Linked DNA regions of Homo sapiens: region 2 is linked to region 1. The links are contacts of gene promoters, found by promoter capture Hi-C in human tissues and cell types (Jung and others, 2019). All regions are on one chromosome and are shown on one strand. The core of a region is centred on a gene start or on the middle of the fragment in contact, and the rest is flanking DNA. Distances in the headings are between cores, read along the strand shown.

Region 1 (4,229 bases), core at 1,140-3,639:
AATCTTCCACAGGGTTAATGCATTTTCAGATCATCAGGAATCTGTTCTCTATTTTGTTTAGTATGAGAAGTATCTTTATTATTCTAGGTCAAAATAACCATGGGTTTATCTGTAGAAAATGAAGTTATTCATAGCAAAGAATAAAATGACTCAAAACTAGCTGTTTTATTTTGGCATAGTACTAGTCTCAGTCAAAAATGTCAAATCCTCTTTGGCACCAATATATCTTTACCTAATCTTCATGGTTGAACAAAATGATAATATAAGATACAATTTAGGGGGAAGAAAGTTGTTAATTATGTACCACACTAATCTAAAATATTTCCAAAACAAGCTCAAGATTCCTTACAGCCCAAAACATGCAAATAAAGATTTGTAACATCTTTTTGAAGTAGCTATGTTTTGGCATAAGAATAAAGAGTCTCTGTTTTAGAAGGTGAATTATTTAAAATATGAATAATTCTCCATAGCTTATCCAGTTTTATTTTTTACATCAATTGACCTACCAATAAGAAAGGTTACTGGTTGCAGGTAGTCAATTTCTTTGTCATGAAAGGGTTAAAATATGCTATTTTGGCACATTTTTAAAGGTAAAGAAACTCGAAAAATAGCAGGTGCATGAAGAGCACTTTGCCCTTTGTGCTGTTTCTTAGGAGAGAAGATGAAATTCCAGTATGAAAGGCACTCTGTACTAGAAGGAAAGGCAACATCCTAAGCTTCAAAGACAAGAAGTAGAATACTGTACAGAACTTGCTAAAATTTATTATTTAAGTCTCCCCACATAATTTAGTCACACAATGTCAATTTAATTCTTGGACCCAGCAGAGACCCTAACAGAATGGAGGTGTAATTTTTCTACCCCTAGAGTAGAGCATGGTACCATGTATACTATGTAATGTTAATATAATATATAGTTCATACTCTGTATTGTGTCTACTAAATATAGTATGTTAATTTGGATGTATACTATTTATGTAGTATATAGTTGATTCAAATAAATACTGTTTAATGATTCCGTTCTTTTACTTAAGAATATATTATGTGTCCCAAAGTCCTGGAATTACAGGTATGAGCCACCGCGGATCACCTGAGGTCAGGAGTTCAAGACCAGCCTGGCTAACATGGCAAAACCCCGTTTCTACTAAAAAATACAAAAAAATTGGCCAGGCATGGTGGCGTGCGCCTGTAGTCCCAGCTACTCAGGAGGCTAAGGCGCGAGAATCGTTTGAACCCGGGCGGCGAAGGTTGCAGTGAGCCGAGATGGTGCCACTGCACTCCAGCCTGGGTGACAGAATGAGACTATGTCTCAAAAAAAAAAAAAAAAGAATATATTATGTGTATGTTTCTATATATGCACACAAAATATTTCTGTTTTGAAGGACTTAATACTTGTAGCATTTAGTCAGAAAAGACATGTGCAACAGTTTAAGAAATTACATGCACATTTTCACATAGATCTCAAGGTAAAATCTAACGCACAGATTTTTGTGTAGCACCTTTCATACGGCAGTATGATAACTGGGTTGTGTTAAGAGTACCATTCTAGAACCTCTTTAAAAAGTTCCTAGAGCCACACATGGGTAACATGTTAACATTAAGTAGCCAATGGTGTTCAATGAACAGTCGTTTCACATACTCATGACTATGTTTTAACCATAACTTCATGGCAGAACGACTGTAAATTGGCAGGTAGCAGCAGAGCAACCATAGGCCATTGTGCCTGAGTCACCGCTCGTGTGATGCCCCTGCACAAACTGATGAATGTCTGTAGTAGCTCGATGTTGTAGTGTCATAACTACAGCTTAATATGCGCAACTATGAAGAAGCTGAGGAGTCAGGAGTATCTGAAAACTCTTACAGTCACACGGAAGAAAAATTCCCTGTTCATCCAGCAGAAGCACTTAGGCAGGAAACCACATATTCGACACCCGGAAGTGCGAAACGCGGGTAACGCAGTGGGAGGTGAAACCGACGAGGGTGCAGGCAGCACCAGGCGGCGAACCAGGCCCGCTGGGTGGTGGCTGGAGGCTGCGGGTGGGGACAAAAGCGCGGCAGACGAGACAAAAGGGAGCGCACTCACCAGAACCACTCGCTACCGAAGCTGGGCACGGAAAACACTCCCCAGTGGATGAAGATGCCGAACTTGGCCTGGTCAAACCACGCGGGCAGCTGGCGGGCGTCCAGGGACTCCCAGGTGGGGTCGAAGCGCGTGGCGCTGTGGGCAGGGCACGGCGGCGGCGGCAGCAGCAGCAACAGCAACAGCAGCAACGGGAACGCGAGCCTGGGGAGCTCCTGGGGCCGCATGTCCCGGCGCAGGCCGGCTGTCCTCTCTGCAGGCTCCCGCGGCCTCGGGAGCGCTGTTCTTCCGTCTCTGCCGCTGAGTATGCCGCGCCGCGGTCACCTGACCAAGTCGGACTTGGAAACCGGCCACCCTTCCCCCTCTGGGGCGGGAGTGGCCACTCTCCCGGGCGTTCCGAATGACCTCAGGAGGGCTGCATCGCTCAGCATAACTAAGGCCAGCATTACCCCAAAGCCAGCTGGGACGGCTTTGCTAAGGCTCTGTCCTCTTGAGGGGAAAATATGAGTCTGAGTCAGGGCCTTGTGGCCAGCGCCTCTGCCCTCAAGCAGACACGACCCTGACCAAGAAACTGCCCAAGAAGACAATGCCCCCAGCCCACCCTGGTGGCTGCTCCACACGTCCGAAGCGTGCACGAGAAGGTCAAGGCAGGAACTTCAGCCGGGTCTCGCCATGATGGAACATGGAAAGCAACCTAGATCCTTCTCGGCCTCTGTATCAGCTCCCAAGATCCTGCATGTTAGAACCGTGGTTGTCAACCTTGAATTTGTATCAGATGAAATTCCAAGAGCTTCAGATTCAGCAGTTAGGTTGGGGCCCAAGAATTTGCGTTTCTACCCAGTTCCTACTTCTAGGATGTTCTGATGTTGGGCCGGGCGCGGTGGCTCACTCCTGTAATCCCAACACTTTGGGAGGCCGAGGCGGGCGGATCACAAGGTCAGAAGATCGAGACCATCCTGACTAACACGGTGAAACCCCGTCCCTACTAAAAATACAAAAAATTAGCGGGACGTGGTGGCGGACGCCTGTAGTCCCAGTTACTCGGGAGGCTGAGGCAGGAGAATCGCTTGAACCCGGGAGGCAGTTACAGTGAGCAGAGACGGTGCCACTGCACTCCAGCCTGGGCTACAGAGTGAGACTCCATCTCAAAAAAAAAAAAAAAAAGAAAGAAAACAAAATTGTGATGTTTCTGATTGGTGGTCCAAACTTTCCTGAGAACCACTGCATTGAACAAGGAGATGATCTGAGACAGGTGAAACCAGTGGAATGAATGTTTAAGAAACCTGCAAGCTTGGGAAAAAAGGCCAGCAACTTGGAAAGATTAATCAAAAGGATATTTGGGAAGCTTATCACCTCCACCTCTTGTTTGGTTTGTTTGTTTGTTTGTTTGTTTGTTTGTTTGTTTGTTTTTGAGACAGAGTCTCGCTCTCTCGCCCAGGCTTGAGTGCAGTAACATGATCTAGGCTCACTGCAGCCTCTGCCTCCCGGGTTCAAGGATTCTCCTGCCTCAGCCTCCAGAGTAGCTGGGACTACAGGCACATGCCACTGTGCCAGACTAATTTTTGTATTTTTCTTTTCTTTTTTAGTAGAGACAGGGTTTCACCATGTTGGACAAGCTGGTCTCAAACTCTTGACCTCAGGTGATCTGCCCGCCTTGGCCTCCCAAAGTGCTAGAATTACAGGCATGAGCCACCAAGCCCAGCCTCTCCTCCACCTCGTAAGTGTTTTCAAAGTAAAGCCAGAATCCTCAACTGCTTCTGCCCCCATGAAATCATTACCCTTCAATGAGCCAATTCAAATGCTGCTTCTTTTGTGAAGCTTTCTGCCACCACCCTTCCCTCCCAGAATGTTGTACTTTCCCTGATCTGCTTCATAACACCTCCTTCCAAGCACACATAGGATTTCACGCATCCTCTAGTAGCTAGGTGGTACAGGTCTGATTTCCCATCAGACTGTGAGCTTTTTGAGGGCATTCATAATGACCTTCTTTTCTGTAGTGCCTACAATTACAGCAGAAAAGCAGCACTCAAAATGTTTGTTGAAGCTCTCCAGTGAACTGGGGTTCTAATTATTGAGTGAAGAACTTGACACTAAGTGGCTGTTGCCTGCATTATCCCAACCCATCTCTGCAGAGAGATGGGAGCAGCAGAGG
Region 2 (4,229 bases), core at 764-3,263, 410 kb after region 1:
TTGCTTCCTTTGCTGCATAGAAGCTTTTTAGTTTATATAGTCCCATTTGTTTATTTTATTTTTGTTGCCTGTGCTTTTGAAGTCATGGCCACAAATTTTTTGCCTAGACCAATGTCTGAGAGCATTTTCCCTATTTTCTTCTAGTAGTTTCATAGTTTTGGGTCTTATGTTTAAGTCTTTCATCAATTTTGGGTTGATTTTTGTATATTGTGAGACATAGGGATCTAGTTTCATTTTTCTGTACTTGGATATCCAGTTTTCCCTGTACCATTATTGAAGAGGATGCCTTTCCCCAATTTATATTCTTAATGGCTTTGTTGAAAATCAGTTAGCTGTAAATACATGCATGTATTCCTGGAGTGTCTATTCTGTTTCATTGGTTTATGTGTCTGTTTTTATACCAATATCTTGCTGTTTTAGTTACTACAGCTTTTTAATATATTTTGAAATCAGGTATGTGATGCCTCCAGCTTTGTTTTTTTTTACTCAGGAACACTATGGCTATTTGAGCTCTTTAATGGTTCTATACAAATTTTAGGATTTTTTTGTATTTATATAAAGAATGTCATTGGTGTTTTGATAGGGATTACATTGAATCTGTAGATTGCTTTGGGTAGTATGGTCATTTTAACAATAGTAATTCTTCTGAGTCATGAGCATGGGATATCTTTCCATTTGTTTGTGTCCTCTTAACATTCTTTCATCAGTGTTTTGAAGTTTTCCTCGTAAGCGTCTTTCACTTTCTTGGTTTAATTTATTCCTAAGTATTTTATTTTTTGTAGCTATTGTAAATGAGATTGTTTTCTTTTTTAGCCAGTTTATTATTGGCACATAGAAATGCTGCTGATTTTTATATGTTGATTTTGTATCCTGCAATTTTACTAAATTCATTTATTCTAGGAGTGTTTTTGGTGGAGTCTTTAGGTTTTATATATATATATATGTATTACATATATATATCCATGTATATATAATACACACACACACATATATCCATGTTATCTACAAAGAGGGACAGTTTGACTTCCTCTATTCCAATTTAGATGACATTTATTTATTTCTCTTGCCTGATTGCTCTGGCAAGGACTTCCAGTACTATGTTGAATAAAAGTGATGACCCTATCTCTAAATAAATAATAAAAATGAAGTGGTGGAACTGGGTATCCAATGTCTTGTTACAGGTCTTTCAGCTTCTCCCCACTCAGTATTATGTTAGCTATGCATTTGTCAGATATGACCTTTACTATGCTGAGGCATGTTTCTTCTATGCCTAATTTGTTAAGAGTTTTAATCATGAAAAGAAGTTGAATTTTATAAAATTCCTTTTCTCTGTCTCTTGAAATGATCATATTGTTTTTGTCTTTCATTCTGTTGTTGTGAGGTATCACATTTATTGACTTGCATGGGTGGAACCATCCTTTCATCTGATGTATTATCCTTTTATGGTGCTGTTGGATTCACTTTGCTAGTATTTTGTTGAAGCTTTTTTGTGTCTGTGTTCATCAGGGGTATTGGCCTGTAGTTTTCTATTTCCATTATGTCCTTGTCTGGTTTTGGTATCAGGGTAATACTGGCCTCACAGAATGAGTAAGGAAGAATTTCCTCCTTTGAATTTTCTGAAATAGTTTGAGAAGAATATGTGTTAGTTTTTCTTTACAAGTTTGATAGCATTTGGAAGTAAAGACATCCGGTGCTGAGCTTTTCTTTGTTGGGAGACTTTTTATTACTGATTCAATCTCATTCCTTTTTTTTTTTTTTTTTTTTTTTTTTTTGAGACAGAGTCTCACTCTGTCGCCCAGGCTGGAGTGCAGTGGTGCGATCTCCCCTCACTGCAAGCTCCGCCTCCCGGGTTCACGCCATTCTCCTGCGTCAGCCTCCCGAGCAGCTGGGAGTATAGGCACCCGCCACCATGCCTGGCTAATTTTTTGTATTTTTAGTAGAGACGGGGTTTCACTTTGTTAGCCAGGATGGTCTCGATCTCCTGACTTCGTGATCCGCCTGCCTACGGCCTCCCAAAGTGCTGAGATTACAGGTGTGAGCCACTGCTCCCAGCCCATTACTTGTTATTGGTCTATTCAGGTTTTCTCTTTCTTCCTTATTCATTCTTTTCTTTTCTTTTTTTTTTTTTTTTTGAGACGGAGTTTCGCTCTTGTTGCCCAGGCTGAAGTGTAGTGGCGCGATCTCGTCTCGCCGCAACCTCCGCCTCCCGTGCTCAAGCAATTCTCCTGCCTCAGTCTCCCGAGTAGCTGGGATTATAGGCATGCGCCATCACACCAGGCTAATTTTTTTGTATTTTTAGTAGAGATGGGGTTTCTCCATGTTGGTCAGGCTGGTCTCGAACTCCTGACCTCAGGAAGCCCACCTTGGCCTCCCAAAGTGCTGGGATTACAGGCATGAGCCACGGTGCCCAGCCCTGATTTATTCTTAGTAGATTGTATGTGTCCAGGAATTTATCCATTTCCTCTAGCTTTTCTAATTTGTTAGCATATAGTTCTTTATAAGTCTCTGATGATTTCTTGTATTTCTGTGGTATCAGTTGTAATGTCTCCCTTTTTGTTTGTGATTTTGCTAATTCACATCCTCTCTCTTATTTTCTTGGTTAGTCTAGCTAGTGATTTATCAATTTTGTTTATCTTTTCAAAAAACTAACTTTTCATTCCATTGACCTTTGTATTTTTTTTTAAAGTCTCTATTACATTTAGTTCTGCTCTGATCTTTATTGTTTCTTTCCTTCCGCTAATTTTGGATTTGGTCTGCTCTTGCTTTTCTAGTTATTGAGGGGGCATCCTTAGCTTGATTATTTGAAATGTTTCTACTTCTTGATATACGCATTTATTGCTATGAAATTCCCTCTTAGCACTTCTTTTGCTACATCCCATGGGTTTTGATATGTTGTGTTTCCATTCTCATTTGTCTCAAGACGTTTATTTCCTTCTGTCTTCTTCATTGACCCAATGGCTGTTAAGCATGTTATTTAATTTCCATGTATTTGTATAGTTTCCAAAGTTCCTGTTGTTATTGATTTCTAGTTTTATCCTATTGTGATCTGAAAGGTATTTGATATGATTTTGATTTTTTTTTTAAATTTAGACTTGCTTCGTGGCCTAGCATATGGTCTATACTAGAGAATGTTCCATGTGTTGATGAGAAGAATGTATATTCTGTTGCTATTGGATAAAATATTCCATGCATGTCTTTTAGGTACGTTGATCTGAAGTGCAATTTAAATCTAATGTTCCTTTGATGATTTTCTGTCTTGACGATCTGTCTAATATAGAGAGTAGGGTGTTGAAGTCTTCAACTATTATTGTATTGGAGTCTATCTCTCCCTTCAGATCTAATAATATTTGCTATATATAACTGGATGTTCTGGTGTTAAGTTCATATATATTTAGAATTGTATCTTCTTTTTTTTTTTTTTTTTTTTTTTTTTGAGACGGAGTCTCGCTCTGTCGCCCAGGCCGCTGCAAGCTCCGCTTCCCGGGTTCACGCCATTCTCCTGCCTCAGCCTCCCGAGTAGCTGGGACTACAGGCGCCCGGCTAATTTTTTGTATTTTTAGTAGAGACGGGGTTTCACCTTGTTAGCCAGGATGGTCTCGATCTCCTGACCTCATGATCCACCCGCCTCGGCCTCCCAAAGTGCTGGGATTACAGGCGTGAGCCACCGCGCCCGGCCCGAATTGTATCTTCTTACCGAACGAATCCCTTTATCATTATATGGTGACCTTGTTTATTTATTTATAATAGATTTAGGGGGTACAAATACAGCTTTGTTACATGGGTATATTGCGTAGTGTTGAGGTCTGGGCTTTTAGTGTAACCATCACCTGAATAGTGTTTATTGTACCCATTAGGTAATTTTTCATCCCTTACCCGCCTCCCACCTTCCCACCTTTCCAAGTCTCTAATACCTGTTATTCCAATCTGTATGTCCATGTGTGCATACTATTTATCTTTCATTTAGAAGTGAGAACATGCAGTATTTTGCTTTCTGTTTTTGTTATTTTACTTGAGATAATGGCCTCCAAATCCATACATGTAGCTGCAAAAGACATTATATTATTTTTTTCATGGATACATAGTATTCCATATATATATTTACCACATTTTCTTTATCCAATCATCCATTGATGGTTATTTAGGTTGATTCGGTATCTGTCATGACTAGTGCTGTGATAAACATGAGTGCATGTATCTTTTTGATAAAATGATTCTTTTCCTTTGAGTAT

What was found. The method cuts DNA at HindIII sites, captures the fragments that hold promoters and counts their contacts. A contact is called where the count stands out against the background at its distance.
Region 2: a fragment that was not itself captured here is called in contact with the fragment with the promoter of FUCA2 in region 1 in 1 of the 25 tissues and cell types used here (H1 embryonic stem cells).

Annotation. Positions count from the first base shown.
Region 1 is chr6:143,509,331-143,513,559 of GRCh38, forward strand. FUCA2 (alpha-L-fucosidase 2) reads right to left here and starts at 2,390. Exons shown (of 7, transcript NM_032020.5): 1 at 2,081-2,390. The coding sequence starts at 2,304. LOC105378035 (a long non-coding RNA gene) reads left to right here and starts at 2,455. Exons shown (of 4, transcript XR_007059796.1): 1 at 2,455-3,446; 2 at 3,664-4,229. RefSeq lists a silencer at 1,623-1,826 and enhancers at 2,027-2,689, 2,249-2,378, 2,489-2,668, 2,690-3,350. The HindIII fragment of the contact is 5,068 bases long and covers 1-3,658 here.
Region 2 is chr6:143,923,422-143,927,650 of GRCh38, forward strand. The region is part of intron 6 of ZC2HC1B (zinc finger C2HC-type containing 1B); the gene reads left to right. Among named protein-coding and RNA genes, the nearest start is that of ZC2HC1B, 61 kb to the left of the region's middle. The HindIII fragment of the contact is 7,370 bases long and covers 1-4,229 here.